Linked DNA regions of Homo sapiens: regions 2 and 3 are each linked to region 1. The links are contacts of gene promoters, found by promoter capture Hi-C in blood cells and fetal thymus (Javierre and others, 2016). All regions are on one chromosome and are shown on one strand. The core of a region is centred on a gene start or on the middle of the fragment in contact, and the rest is flanking DNA. Distances in the headings are between cores, read along the strand shown.

Region 1 (2,959 bases), core at 309-2,808:
CATGTGTTGTGGGACCTTTCCATGGCTTCATCTGCATGGAAGGTAGAGGCACACAGTACCTGCTATGTCCCATCATTCGGGCCTCCGCTCCAAGTTGCTTTATCAGAGGGCTGCCCTGATCATCTTTCCTAAAATAGCACACACACCACACACACACACATGCACGTGTACACACACACCTCATTCTCCTTACCTTATTTTGAAGCCCTCATTGCCAACTGACATTATACGTTTACTTATTTTTCTTTGACAATTTCCCTGCTTCTCCAAAATGTAGACTCCATGGGGGCAAAGAACCATCTGTTTTGTTCACTATTGTAGCTTCAACACCAAAGATAAACCCCAACAACTACAGGGATGCTTAATCCTAGCGCCTAGGCTCTTAGGGATACATAAATACTTTCTTTCTCAAAGAAACAATATTAGTATTTGAAAAAGGAATGTGGACATTCTTTAGTGTTGCGCCCACCCCTAAAACATAGTCTGCCTCGGAGCAATGGAGAAATCTGATTGGCCCCTGTGGGTCCCATGCCCCCTTGTGGCTCTGTCGTGGGAATGGGGCTGGGGGCAAAGTCCATGCAATCCATAGAAGATAGAGGAAGGAAAGTTCCGCCCACCGCCCACCCAAAAAAGGTCTGTTAGCAGAATTTAGGATGGGGATGGGGAAAAGGAGGAGGATGTGGGGGAGGCAGAAACAACAGATGGCAACTATGGGGATTTTTCCAGAGTGGGAAGTGTAACCCAGGGATAAGCTGGGGTCCCTGGTAAAGGAAGTATCCCTAAATAACTGGACCTTCATACTCTTTGGGAAAGAACAAGCTGAGGCCCCAGGCACACCTGCATGGCATCACCATAGCCTTGCTTCTTGAATGACTCCTGCTGGCATCAGGAGGCATCTCCCTGGCAGGAACAAGCCTGAGGCTTCACCACGGAAGCTGGAGGAAACGCAGGGACCCATGGCACAAACTGACACAGGAGTTCTATGTTTCATTGCACATCATTTTGTTCACCAGTGCATTTGTACGATTCTGCCTCTATGGCTATCAAGTTTAATTAACAACTCATTTTTAGGTAAGAGTAAAAATGAATTAGGTAAAAAAAAATAAGCAACAGCTGCCAAGTGAGCATGGAGCACATACACTCACAGATGGAAAAAATCTACATCTTGCTGCTATGATTTAGCTCAGGGTTTTATATTTAATTTTTGTTTTGTTTTGCTTTTGTTTTTATACACCTCACCACAAGGTATTTTAAATTCTTTAAATGTATTCCCGAATATAGAAAATGTTTCTTGGGCTCTCCTGAGAGTGGGGTGCCCAGGCTGACCACAGGCACACACACATTCTTCCCATAGTACAGTACTTTAAAATTAATAGCACATGCAGAGGAAAAACTAAACCCTTTGACGTCACTCTTGAAATGAGGAAACATAAACAGAAAAGGCTCCACTCCAGTAAGCTGCCAGAGTTGAAGCCGATTGGTCTCTGCTTTTCCTTGCCTGTGGCAACTGACAGCACCTCCCAGCCTAGCAGGCCGGCGGCTGCTCACCCAGCCAGTCAGTTGGTCTGGGCACTGCAGCAGGCTCGGCTCTGTCCCAGCACTTGTCTGGGAGAAAAGTGGTGTTACTCACCCAGGGAGAGTCTCTCTTTCTACCTTCCTTCTTTCTCGATCTCCTTGTGTGCTTTTGTGTTTCTTTATTTCTTTTCCTTTTTTTTCTTTTTTTTTTTTTGTTACTTAATTATATTCCTAATCCTGGATGAAGTTGCTGGATTCTGCAGCACAAGTCTTCATGAACAAGCAGCACCGCTCAGAGATTTCACGGCATTCAAAGGTCACAGAACTGCCACTATGGTTAAATGTCTTGTTTAATGGTTGAGGTATGTACAACAAATTTAAGCGGCAAGCTCAGTTTTCTTGAGAGAATAGAGTCACAGAGAGATGGCAGGATTTTTATTTAAAATGAACCTGTACATATATATGTTTTTTGTCTGTGATTGTTACTACAGCAACCAGCTTTTGAATTTCCTTCCTTTTTCTAGGCGAACTGACTAAACATTATCACTTACCCTGAATTAACCGTTTAAGGGCAGCAGGGTTTCATTCCAACCAGTGTAATGAGACTCCGGCATTTTCACTGCACTTTGAGCCCACACTGAGGTGGTCTTTAAAAAAAAAAATAAAGAATGCAATATTTTTTTTCTCCAACATAAATCTTGGAGTTGGGTAATTTTCATTTTTGGTGGGACAGGATAGGAAAATGCTGGTAAAGGGATTGGTAAGGTTTGTGGAACAGGGAAGAAGGAAATTAGTTTTTTTCTTGAGTTTTTCATGTTGGTTGATAGCAGACTTCAAGATGAAGAAATTAGTGGCAAGAAGGGAAGAAGCTGATAGTGAGACTGAAGGTAGAAAAAAATCAATAGAAGATGTCCAAAAAATGAGCTCTGAAGAAAAATCCTTCATCACCTTGTTGCATTTTTCAAAAAATGTTTTGGATTCAGAAGTCCAGGAGAGATGCAAGTACTAAGTTACATGACCAGAAATTTAGATATTATTATTTATAAAGGAAAGTAAAACTTCTTTATTACCACTGCAAATTTGCTAATTATCTTTTCCTACAATAGTTGAAAATGGAGTCAGATATTCAATTAGGGGCTTAAGTGATTGAGCCTGGGGACTAATTAATCATTTAAAAATTCTGTTCTTCATGTGCTCTAGCCAGAGTGACTATTGCAATAAGAGTAAACCTCTTTGCACCAGAGACAGGCATAGGCATTCATATACAGTAAACACACTAAATGCTGCAGGAAGATTGGCAATTCAATACAGGGCTAATGTTGTTTTCAGTGGCACATTATTATGTCTTAAGGAGGATCCCTGCTAAAAATCATTCCTATCCAAAGAGTCGGTTTTTGTAACAGCAATTTAAGTAATATATGGTTACCATGGATTTCCCTATTAC
Region 2 (2,959 bases), core at 249-2,748, 200 kb before region 1:
CTAAAAAGTAACTAACATGCTTTTGATTTTACAGGCTCATAGGCAGAAGGGACTTGCCTTGTCTCAGATGAGACATTGCACTGTGGACTTCTGAGTTAATACTGAAGTGAGTTAAGACTTTGGGGGACTGTTGGGAAGGCATTACTGGTTTTCAAATGTGAGGACATGAGATTTGGGAGGGGCCAAGGGTGGAATGATATGGTTTGGCTCTGTGTCGCCACCCAAATCTCATCTTGAATTCCCACATGTTGTGAGAGGGACCCAGTGGGAGGTAATTGAATCATGGGGGCAGGTCTTCCCCATGCTGTTCTCGTGATAGTGAATAAGTCTCACAAGATCTGATGATATTATAAGGGGAGTTTCCCTGCACAAGCTTTCTCTTTTTGCCTGCTGCCATCCATGTAAGATGTGACTTGCTCCTCCTTGCCTTCTACCATGATTGTGAGGCTTCCTCAGCCGTGTGGAACTGTAAGTCCATTAAACCTCTTTCTTCTGTAAATTGCCCAGTCTCAGGTCTGTCTTTATCAGTAGTGTTAGAGCAGTCTAATACGTGCACATAAAAACAGAGTGTCAAAATATGTAAGCAAAAACTGATACAAGTGCAAGGAGAAATAGTTAAATCCAGTATTATTATTGGAGATTTTAACACACCCCTCTATTAGAAATGGACAGGTCCAGTAGGCAAGAAGATCAGTAACAACAGAGTTGAACTCAACAACACCATCAATCAACTGGTTATAATGGATATCTATTGACTACTTCATCTAACAACAGCAGAATACACATTCTTCCAAGCTTACATGGAACATTCACCAGTATAGAACATATTCTGGGCCAAAAAACACATACCTTAACAAATTTGAAGGAATAGGAATCATACAATCAATGTCTTCTCTCAGACTGCAATAAAATTAAACTAGAAATCAAAAACAGGTAGTTGGAAAATCCCCACATACTTAGAGATTAAACAACATACTTCTAAGTAACACATAGGTCAAAGAAGAAATCTCAAGATAAAATTTTAAATACTTTGAACTAAATGAAAATGAAAACACAACTTATGAAAACTTGTGGGATGCAGCAAACATCTCACAAGTTTTTAAAATGCGTAAAGGGAAATATACACAGTAGTACTTCCTCATTTGCAGTTTTACTTTTTGTGGTTTCAGTTATCTGTGGTCAACTACAGTCTGAAAATATTAAGTGAAAAATTCCAAAAATAAACAATTCTTAAGTTTTAAATTGAATACTGTTCTGAGTAGCATGATAAAATCTCTTGCCTTCCCACTTCATCCCCTATGAGATGTAAATCCTCCTTTGTTCACCTTATATACATTCACTACCTGGCCATTAGTCATTTAGTAGCAGTCTTTTTTTTTTTTGAGACAGGGTCTCACTCTGTCACACAGGCTGGAGTGCAGTGGCACTGTCTTGGCTTACTGCAACCTCTACCTCCTGTGTTCAAGTAATTCTCCTGCCTCAGCTCTGCCCCCCTCCCCCCAGCCCCCCACCGTCCCTGAGTAGCTGGGATTACAGGCAGGCCACCATGCCTGGCTAACTTTCGTATTTTTTGGCAGAGGCGGGGTTTCACCATGTGAGCCAGGCTGGTCTCGAATTTCTGGCCTCAAGTGATCTGCCTACCTCAGCCTCCTGGAGTGTTGGGAATACAGGCGTGAGCAGTCTTGGTTATTAGATTGACTATTGTGATATGACCGTGCTTGTGTTCAAGTAACCCTTATTTTACTTAATGGCTCCAAAGCACAAAAGTAGAAATGCTGGCAATTCAGATATGAAGGAAGCCATAAAGTACTTCCTTTAAGTGAAAAGGTGAACATTCTTGACTTAATAAGAAAAGAAAAAAATTATATGCTGAACTTGCTAACATCTACGGTAAAAATGAATCTTCTATCCACGATATTGTGAAGAAGGATAAAAAAATTCATGCTAGTTTTGTTGTCACACCTCATGCTGCAAAAGTATGGCCACTGTAAGTGCCTAGTTAAGATGAAAAAAGCGTTACATTTTGTGGCTGGAAGACAGAAATAGAAACATATTCTGATTTACAGCATTTAGGCTGGGTACTATCCAAGGTTTCAGGCATCCACTGGAAGTCTTGGAACATAGCGCCTGTGGATAAGGGGAAACTACTGTAGTATTGAATGCATATATTAGGAAAGCAGAAAGATCTAAAATCAATCATGCAAGCTTTTACCATAGAAAACTAGAGAAAGGGCAAATTAATCCAAAGTAAGCACAAGAAACAATAAATATTAGAGTAGAAATTAAAGAAATTGAAATAGGAAATCAATAGGGAAAATTTTTGAAACCAAAAGCTGGGTCTTTGAAAAGATAACAAAACTGATAAGCTTCTAGCCAGGCTAGGAAAAAGAAGGGCACAAATTACTACTTTTGGAAGGAGGAGATTTCACTTCAGAGCCCATGGACATTGGAAGGATAATAAAGGAATACTATGAATAATTCTGTGCCCACAAATTTGATAACCTAGGGGAAATAGATGAATTTCTTGAAAAATAAAATCTGATAAAACTCACACAAGAAGAAATAGACAATCCAGATAGGCCTAGATCTATTAAAGGAATGGAATTAATAATTAATAACCTTCCAAAACAGAAACCATGAGACCCTGATCAGTTCACTAGTAAATTCTACCAAATACTTAAGGAACAAATTATATCAATTCTCTACAGTCTTTTCTAAAATATAGAGGCATATGGAATATTTACTAACTCATTCTATGAGGCCAGCTTCACCATAATGTCAAAATCAGACAAAAACATTATGAGAAAAGATCAATATTTCTTATGAATATAGACACAAAAGTCCTCAACAAAATATTAGCAGACTGAATCAAGCAATGTATAAAAATAATTATATTCCATGACTAAGTGGGATTTATCCCAGGTATGCAAGGTTGGCTCAAATTTGAAAATCAATTACT
Region 3 (2,959 bases), core at 262-2,761, 150 kb before region 1:
GACAATAGGCAGCACAAGAAGGACTGTGAATCTCGGGGGAAGAGAAGTAAGTGAGGTGAGCCCTGCACTGCAATTGCCTAGGATTTTCGCCTGGAGGCACATTTTAGACTGCAGAGCAGAGAGGGAGATTCCAAGCAAGGAAAAGTTGTCTTATATAATTGAGGAGGCAGAACTTGAAGTTTAGGAAGTCTGGTGTCTGTAAATGGTGAGGCAGAGATCTACAGAGTAGGGAGCTACACAGAAAACGGGCTTGAGAAATATACACAGTGGGTCCCATGAGTCTGAAAAATATCAAGACAATGCACAGCGTGAAATGCTACAAGGCTGGGCAAAGAACAACTGTGGAGTTATGAGAGGAGCGTATTTCCACAATACACACAGACTGCGGAATCATTTGCATTACCACCAGATAGCATGGAGAGCCCTCATTGAGCCTCTTTACTTGGAGAATGCAGTAAAGACTCCATCCAGAAGGACTACTCTGCAGTAGTGGGCTAACCCATTCCTAGAGGAAAGGTTTCTCTAGCCCTGCCCAAGCACAACTTAAAAGCAAGTCTCAAAACCATCTAACTAAATACTTATATTAGAAAAGAAGTAGTATCAACAATCAATGATCTAAATTTATTAGAGTCTAAATTCCCACCACAAGAGGCTGGAAAAGAGAAGAAAAGTTAAACCAAAGTAAGCAGAAGGAAGAGAATAAAAATGATAACAAAAATAGAAAACCCAAGACAAACTGAGAAAATTTATGAAACCCCAAGCTGGGTTTTTGACAACATCAGTAATATTGGTAAATATCTAGCAAAACTGATACAGGAAAAAAAGGGAAGACAAAAAATTATCAGTCAAGAATTAAAGAGGGGACATCATTAACTATCCTATAGATTTTACCCAGATAATAAGGGAATATTAGTAACAAATTTATAATGACAAAGTTGGATTGTTGGGAAAAGCATCCTGTGGTAGCAGTAAGTAGCCATCCAACAAAAGCCACTATAACAATAACAAAAACACATCATTCATTAACCAATTTTATGTGGCAGGTCCTGGTTAAAGACAGTGGAAAGAAACCAAAACCAACTAAAGAAGAAAAGCAAGGATTATTTATTCAGTGTTTGCTATAGCAAGGGGAGTCTGCCACTGTCACTTGTGTTTTGGGAGAGAATCAAAGGCAAGCAGAGGAGTGGGAAGCTTCATAGTGAGAAATAAAGGGAAGGCTTCAATCATACCCTGACTGGAGGCTGTTGTCTTGGGGAAGTTGGAGGTAGGCTAACCAGAAGCAGAACATCCTCTGTGATTGCTTAGGGGTGCATATTTGGCTTTCTCTGGTTTGTCCTAAGTTTGGAGTGGGGACAGATATTGGGAAAGCTGTCAGTTATGAATCAAGTCCTGGCCATTTTGAGCCGATTGTTACAGAAGTTTTTGCTTAGCTTCCTATATTGTTTCTACAGATAGCAGCCTGACTTATAGCAGGCTGGCTTCCTGGACTATTTATTGAAGTTAACAGATTGGCTTTCTGGACAAGATTCTGGAGGTTGATGGTCAAAGTTCTATTTTTATACATGGATTAGTTCATGTCAGTTTGTATATTCAGTCCCTCAGTAATAAATGATATAGTGATACCCAATTCATTCTGAAAGCATAATGAAAAGAGTGACCCAGTCTTCCTGGGAGCATCCGAGAAGCCTTTACAGTGAAGCTAATATTTGAAGTTGCCTTAAATTCTGAGGCAAAAAGAAGATGAGAAGAAATTGCTACCAGAGATGACCACATTAAAAAAAATAATAAGCAGGTGGGTGGGTGGTGTGTTTGAAGATTAGTGACCTTTTAAAGAAGCTTGAACATAGGCGGGTGGAGGCAGACAGCCAGGAAAGAAAGGTGGAACCAAAATGTAATGGACTTTGAGTGTTGTTCTAAGATGTAATCTTATGGGCTCCAAGGGAGACAGGATGCTTTAAAGCCAATAGTTATAATATTAGACTTGTATTTTAGGAACATGATCCTTTTGATAGTGGAAAATATGCATGGGGTGGGTCAGGAAACTGGAAACTTGCACACAAGCTAGGATGGTATTTTACCAATTGGAGGAAGTGGTGGGAAAGGCCTTGATTTGGGCAGGGACGGTGGGGATACAGCAAAGGGCAGATAGAACAACCAGGGCAACATTTTGGACATGCAGTGCGTGCTCCGTAAATATCTGTTATATTTTTAAGTGAATAAATGGGACATTTAGGAAGTGGAATGGGTTAGGTTTGGTGACTGATTGGATATTATAAGGACAGGAAATAGTCAAGAACTACTAAAGTTTTTAGCTTCAGTGACTGATTGTATAGCAATGCTATCAGCCAAAGTGTGAAAAATAGGGGTGTGGCAGTTTATGAGTGAGGATGCCAAGTTTCATTTGGGGCATGTCTTTAGGGCTTATAAAATTGGAATCAGGGTTTGGGGGGGTCACTGATGGCACATAGGTAATAGCTGGAATTATGCAAAGAGGTGGGATTGGTCAGAAAGACTTTCCAAAGCTAGGGGAGAGGGTCCAGTCCTTGAATGCACTGATTCTCACTTTTTAAAATTATTTATTTATTTTTTTTGAGCCAGAGTCTCACCCTGTTGCCCAGGCTGGAGTGTAGTGGTATGATTTCGGCTCACTGCAACCTCTGCCTCCCAGGTTCAAGCAATTCTCATGCCTCAGCCTCCTGAGTAGATGGGACTATGGGCACATGCCCAACTAATTTTTGTATTTTTAGTAGAGATGGGGTTTGGCCCTGTTGGACAGGTTGGTCTCGAATTCCTGACCTCAAGTGATCCACATGCCTCAGCCTCTCAAAGTGCTAGGTTTACAGGCATGAGCCACCATGCCAGCCTGCACTGATTTTTAAACAGTGGATAAAAGAGGAAGAAACAGTGTTTGCCATTAAATACTGTTGTGTGCTACTTCTTTGGAATTTTTCCTTTAGTT

What was found. The method cuts DNA at HindIII sites, captures the fragments that hold promoters and counts their contacts. A CHiCAGO score of 5 or more calls a contact.
Region 2: a contact is called between a fragment that was not itself captured here and the fragment with the promoter of PDE7B in region 1, in 1 of 17 cell types (total B cells). The highest score is 5.7, in total B cells.
Region 3: a fragment that was not itself captured here is called in contact with the fragment with the promoter of PDE7B in region 1 in 1 of 17 cell types (total B cells); the score reaches 5.2 in total B cells.

The regions. Positions count from the first base shown.
Region 1 is chr6:135,850,143-135,853,101 of GRCh38, forward strand. It overlaps PDE7B (phosphodiesterase 7B), which reads left to right and starts at 1,559. Exons shown (of 13, transcript NM_018945.4): 1 at 1,559-1,877. The coding sequence starts at 1,857. RefSeq lists a silencer at 1,346-1,583. The HindIII fragment of the contact is 11,590 bases long and covers 1-2,959 here.
Region 2 is chr6:135,651,004-135,653,962 of GRCh38, forward strand. The region is part of intron 3 of AHI1-DT (AHI1 divergent transcript); the gene reads left to right. Among named protein-coding and RNA genes, the nearest start is that of LINC02524, 18 kb to the left of the region's middle. The HindIII fragment of the contact is 1,410 bases long and covers 794-2,203 here.
Region 3 is chr6:135,697,922-135,700,880 of GRCh38, forward strand. All of the region lies in intron 5 of AHI1-DT (AHI1 divergent transcript), which reads left to right. Among named protein-coding and RNA genes, the nearest start is that of LINC02524, 65 kb to the left of the region's middle. The HindIII fragment of the contact is 645 bases long and covers 1,190-1,834 here.